2 separate regions of the Homo sapiens genome follow, and region 1 is linked to region 2. Evidence: promoter capture Hi-C in human tissues and cell types (Jung and others, 2019). All regions are on one chromosome and are shown on one strand. Each heading gives the region's core, a stretch centred on a gene start or on the middle of the fragment in contact. The rest is flanking DNA. Distances are from core to core; before and after follow the strand shown.

The links. Contacts are between HindIII fragments. The study calls those that stand out against the background at their distance.
Region 1: a fragment that was not itself captured here is called in contact with the fragment with the promoter of FSTL1 in region 2 in 1 of the 25 tissues and cell types used here (bladder).

Annotation. Positions count from the first base shown.
Region 1 is chr3:120,512,264-120,515,094 of GRCh38, forward strand. It overlaps the pseudogene RPL34P9. Among named protein-coding and RNA genes, the nearest start is that of FSTL1, 63 kb to the left of the region's middle. The HindIII fragment of the contact is 3,428 bases long and covers 1-2,831 here.
Region 2 is chr3:120,449,476-120,452,356 of GRCh38, forward strand. FSTL1 (follistatin like 1) reads right to left here and starts at 1,517. Exons shown (of 11, transcript NM_007085.5): 1 at 1,422-1,517; 2 at 1,209-1,271. The coding sequence starts at 1,271. It overlaps LOC124900546 (a long non-coding RNA gene), which reads right to left and starts at 1,179. Exons shown (of 2, transcript XR_007096030.1): 1 at 1-1,179. The HindIII fragment of the contact is 21,476 bases long and covers 1-2,881 here.

The DNA of each region.
Region 1 (2,831 bases), core at 266-2,765, 63 kb after region 2:
GTCTCTCCTTCTGCCTTATGCCCCTCAGTTGAATTCTTTCTTCTCAGGAGGCAAGTATTGAGGTTGCTTCAGACCCATACAGATTCACTGCCAGTAACTCGGATACTTGCCACTGGTAACAAAAGGATTCATAGAAATTCATAGAAATGGTATCATAGAAATGATTCATAGAAATGAAAGAGGAAATGATAGATACCGGTCCCACCTTTGCACATATTCCAGCTGACATATTGCCTTCTCAATACCACACCTCTGAGAGGGCAAAAATTAATTACCTGAGTGGATTTTTTTTAATGCAGAATAAGATTGTATGTGCCTGAATTCTTATAAAACTCTATAAAGGGCTTCCATGCTTAAATAGCTATTTCCTCTAGTAGCTTTTGATTGATGGATAATTTTCTCACATTCTAACAGATGTCTCAGCCATTTCTGCCACCTGTAGCAGAAAATATTCTGCACATAACACTTTTACTAATATAATACAGTAATGAATCAATAGAAATATTACTGCACTCTGCTTTAAAGAAAAGACATCTCAAGAAAACAAGGTCAGCTCTTCCAGGGATGCTGTCTGGAAGCGCTCAGAATGTCAGTGTTTGACATATTGTCTTAGGCTTCCTACAACAGCCTCTAACAGAACTCTGCTGTACTGAACCCCTAGTAATAGAATTGTTTACCTTTACACCAAGAAGGATGGAAAAGCACCAAAATCTGCATGTGGTGTGTGCCCAGGCCGACTTTGAGGGATTTCTGCTGTGAGACCTAAAGTTCTTATGATTGGCCAGTATGAAAAAACATGTCAGCAGGGCCTAAGGTGTCCCATGTGTGCCAAATGTGCCTGTGACAAGTTGAAAGGTGCTTTCCTTATCAAGAAGGAGAAAATTGTTTCAAAGGTGTTGAAGGCACAAGAAAGTAAGAAAGCTAAATTTAAAAAATGAAGCTTTTTTGGTTATAAAAAAATCAAAAGGCAACAGCAGCAACAAGACAAGGTCAAAATGAGGTAACTGAGTGAAAAAACAAAAACAAAAACAAAACAAACGAACTGGGGGCCAAGCATGGTGGCTCATTCCTGTAATCTCAGCACTTGGGAGGCTGAGGTAGGAGGATCACTTGAACCCAGGAGTTTGAGACCAGTCTGGGAAACATAGGGAGAGCCCATCTCTAGAAAAAAAATTACCTGGGCATGGTGGCCCACAGATACTCAGGAAGCTGAGGTGGGAGGATTGCTTGAGCCTGGGAGTTCGAGGCTGCAGTGAGTGAGCTATCATCATGCCACTGCACTCCAGTCTGGGCAACGGAGTGAAACCCTGTCTCTAAAAAAATCAAAATCAAAATTAACTGGCAGTACAGGTTCAACTCCTCCAAATCTACTCTTGGAACCATGTATATAATTACTGATCTTCAGAATGATGCATGGGAACTGCATTATCATCAGTCTTTAAAAATTGTTTTATTAAGTTTACAATTTACTAAATGTCTTTTATGAGCCCAGATCTCCTCTAAATTTTATGGGGAATGAAGAAATATGATACATGGCACCTGTCCTCAAGCAGCTTACAGTATAATGGAAAAAACAGGGAAAATTATTTAAATCATATTAAATGCAAAGTTGTATGGCATTCAATGTAGAGAAGTTCAGGTAAGACTGTATGATGCATATTTCAGTGTTTCTAACTGGTCAACCAGTTTGGATGAGTGAATCTTGGTGGATGACCCAGTCGGTGACTGTGAGCACCTCTCCAAGCTTTCTCTTAATATGGCTTGAAATTGTGTTTTATTTTCAGCATCTACATTATAAACTACTTCTAAAACTGTTTCACAATAATGCTTCTAACACTGTTTTTTAATATCCTACTCTTGTGCAGTTCATTTTTTGAAGCTATAAATAAAATTTATATTTATCCTTATTCAATTATTCTGATTGGTTGATGCTCATTGATCTAATTCATTAAAATAATTTGGACCCTGGTTGTATCATTCAATTTATTAGCTTTCCCTCCCAACTTTAGTCACCTGATTCAACTTGGATATATCTTAATTATAAGGAATTTTAGTGCACTGTGAAGTTTTTGAAAAATTGTCCTATATATTATCTCATTTTATGATCTAAGTCTCTGGGCAGTGATTATTCCCTTTCTTACAGGTGGCCACTGAAGCTCAGGGCAGTGAGGTGACTTACTAGCAAGTGCAGAGCTAGGACAAGGATTCATGTCTAGTATTCATGTCATGTATTCGAGACTAGTGCCTTGGTACCCTTTCTTTATTTAAAATACTATATATATATATATATATATATATATCCTCCCCCTCCCCCTCCCCCCTCCCTCTCCTTCTTCTTTACAGAGTCTTGCTCTGTGTCCAGGCTAGAGTGCAGTGGCACAATCACAGCTCACTGCAGCCTTGACCTTCTGGGCTCAAGAGATCCTCCCATCTTAGCCTCCTGAGTAGCTGAGGCCCTAGAGGTGCACTGCCATGCCTGCTAATTTTTAAATCTTTTTGTAGAGATAGGGTCTCCCTATGTTGCCCAGGCTGGTCTCAAACTCCTGGACCAAAGTTATCCTCCTGCCTTGTCTTCCTGAAGTGCTGGGATTACAGGCATGAATCACTATGCCCAGCCAAAATATTACATTTTTTCAAAGGAATATTTTTGTTTATTTTTAATTTTAAAGATCACATGTTGAATATGTTAACAATGCATAAACTCAGATACTACAGATACTGAACATCCCCTTTGGCCCCTCTTCCAACCCCACATCCCTCTCCAAAGGTACTCACTCAACTCAATTTGGAGTGTATTCTTCAAGACCTTTCCCCATATACTTCTTCATTTC
Region 2 (2,881 bases), core at 267-2,766:
CCTTCGCTGACTCAATTTATCTGTCATTAAAATGGAATTTTATTACAACATAGCAGATATTTAATAAATATTAGCTACTTTTATTTCATTGGCAGTAAAAACAGTTGATTGAGTTTCCACCTCAATCAACAACGTAGTAGTGAATTAAATGAGAATTCAGTACAATGCGTATTTTTTAAAAATTGTGAAGACCTTGTATGCATTTATGACTTTTTTGGGCAGAGTCAAGCTGCGATGCTAAGGGTGTGGTTAAACTGTAATATGAAGGAAAAAATTCAAACAGGGAGCATAAACCACCCACCAGGGAGCTATTTCTTTTGTAATGTGCATTCCATTTCTTCTCCCTCATGCTTTTTAATTCCTTCCATATTTCCTGCCATAATTATCAAATGTTTAGTTTCTGACCTCACTTTCCTGGAGACTGGAGCCCGGGGAATTTAGAATTGTTTATTTTCTGTCCATAAACCTTTGAGTTAATGGAGCGGCTTCTGAGCAAAGAGTTTGTTGGTTTGTTTGTAGTGTCTCAGGAAGGTCGTTAGAGTTGAAAAAATTGGTACAAAAAAACAAGCGCTGAAATGCTTTAACTGGAAACTCGAGCCCCCAAAGAGCAGAGCAATGGATCTTCTCTTACACTTGCGCAACGTTACAGGGAACACTTGGGAAAAGGCCGTTACATTGCCCAGATGATAACACAAAACCCGAGGACACTTCACAAAGAAGAAAATACATTTCAGAGAATCATGATCTCACTTTAAAAGAGAGAAAGGAAAATTAATTTTGCCCCAAAAGAAGAATCCCGATTCCTCTGCCCCCGCCCCCAGGAGACAGACTTGGGAGGGAAAAGTCCCCAACTACTCTCAGTCTCCTCTGAAGTGAAGGACGGAACTGAGGCGCCTTTTTGAACTCGCTGCTGCTCCAGTCGCCGCCTCGTCCCCGTCGGCCCAGCCCGTCCCCTCTCCTCCTCCCCGCTCTCCCTCCATGTTAGCCGCGGCGGGGCTCCCGCTTACGGCCCGAACTACTTTTCCTGCTTTAAAGATTTAAGTTTCGTAAGCAGCATTACTGCCCCAGCTCCACCCCAGCACACCCCAAGGACCGAAACTCCCAGCGCCACCCCGGGAGAGCATCCCCAGGACGCGCGCCCACCCGCCCAGCGCGCAGACCCAAGAGGCCCCGGGGACCGAGTTCGGACTCCTCGGCCCCTCGCCTACCTCGGCGCGGACCCAGGCGACCGCCACCAGCGCGAGCGCGAGCGCGAGCCAGCGTTTCCACATCTGCGGAAGAGAGAAGAGAGCGAGTCTGAAGGCGCCGGGCCCCGCGCTGACCTGGGAAACTTGCTCGGGTCCCGCAGGCTCGCTCCGGCCGCCCAAGCACCCCCGGCCGCCCGAAGAGTCCGGCCTCCGCGCCGTGCGCCCTGCGCTCACCGTGGTCTGGTCCAGGTCTCCTGGGGGCGCGGGGCAGGACGGCGGCAGCGAGCTGTAAGCGGAGGTGGGAGCTCCGCCGATCGCCAGCCTCGGAGGAAATGCGACCTCCCCTCGCCGCCCCTTAAGACCTCTCCTTCCCCGCCTGCCTGCCCCCCCAGCTCCTCCCCATTCTCCTCCCCCTTCTGCTGCAGCGGCCCCCGCGGCTCCCGCTCCCCCTCCTTCCGACCCCTGCTCCGGGGAGCCCGCGGGAGTCCTGGCGCCGCCGAACCCCTCTCTCCGCACGGTCCCTCGTCCGGCGCCCCTTCGGCCCCCTGGACGTGGAGCGGAGGCAGAGGGGGTGTCCCGTGGGTCCCTGCCACAAAGGGGTAGGGGGAAGGGAAACCCCACCCCGGGAGGGGCTGCTGGCTGGCGGCGGCCCGGGCGGGCTGCGGCGGTGGCCAGGTGGGCGGTGCCGTGGGGGGCCCGGGAAGGTCCGGGACTGGAACCTGGAGGAAAAGACGTCCCGCGGCCTAGGAAGCGGAGCCGCCCCCCATGGCTGAAGGGGGAGGCCCAGGGAGGCAGAGGAGACCCCGCATCCCGGGGTCACGGCAGCAGGGCAGCGGGGCACCGGGAAGTGGGCGCAGGGCCGGGAAGACCGGCCGGCGTGGGGAAGGCTGCTGTGGGTTCTACAGTGCATTGTCCCGGGTGAGGTGGCGGCCGCCCTGCTCTGCTGGGAAGATCCTGAGTCCAGCGTTTGCCGGCAGCCTCATCCCCTCCTTCCCTCGGGCCGGGGAGCGGTGTCCCCCTCCTCTCTTCCGCCCACTCACTCATCACCTGTGTCCCTCCTCCCATCCCTGTCATCCCAAGTAGCCTCTGTGTTCAGGATTGCCATCTTCACCACCTTCTTCCCAGCCCTTGGCCTTCGAAAGTGTGCTACCTCTTTGACAGGGTTAACTCCCTAAAATGCTCCTAATTAAGGCGCCTTTCCTGCCATAACTAGTAAGGAGAGCAGATCCACTTAGCAACTCAGATTTCACATGCCCAAGACTAAGCCTCACTTCCCCCAGCTTCAGGGCCTGCTTATCTACCTCTTTCAGGGTGGTTGCCTTCAAACCTATCTCCTTTTCTCAGAGCCGGCTTGTACCCATAGCCTGGCAGTTTAGCCGCTGAGATCTCATATGCATCCCCTCGCCTCCGTTCACATGTCCACTTTCCTAGGCCAGACCTTCATCCTCCCTCACTCAGAAATTCTGGAAACCTCCTTTCGTTGTCCTCTGACTCCAGGCTCTCCCCTGTAGTCTCCACTGCAATCCATTGTCATATTCTTTCCCTTATTTTAAACATTGTCTTCCTCGTGTTCATGTTCTTCCTCTACTCAGAAACTTCAGCGTTCTTCTACCCACATCAAATCCAAACTCTGCCTTTCTTATAAGCCCTGCATTACTGGGCCCACCCTGTCCATCTAACTTCTCTTCAACTAC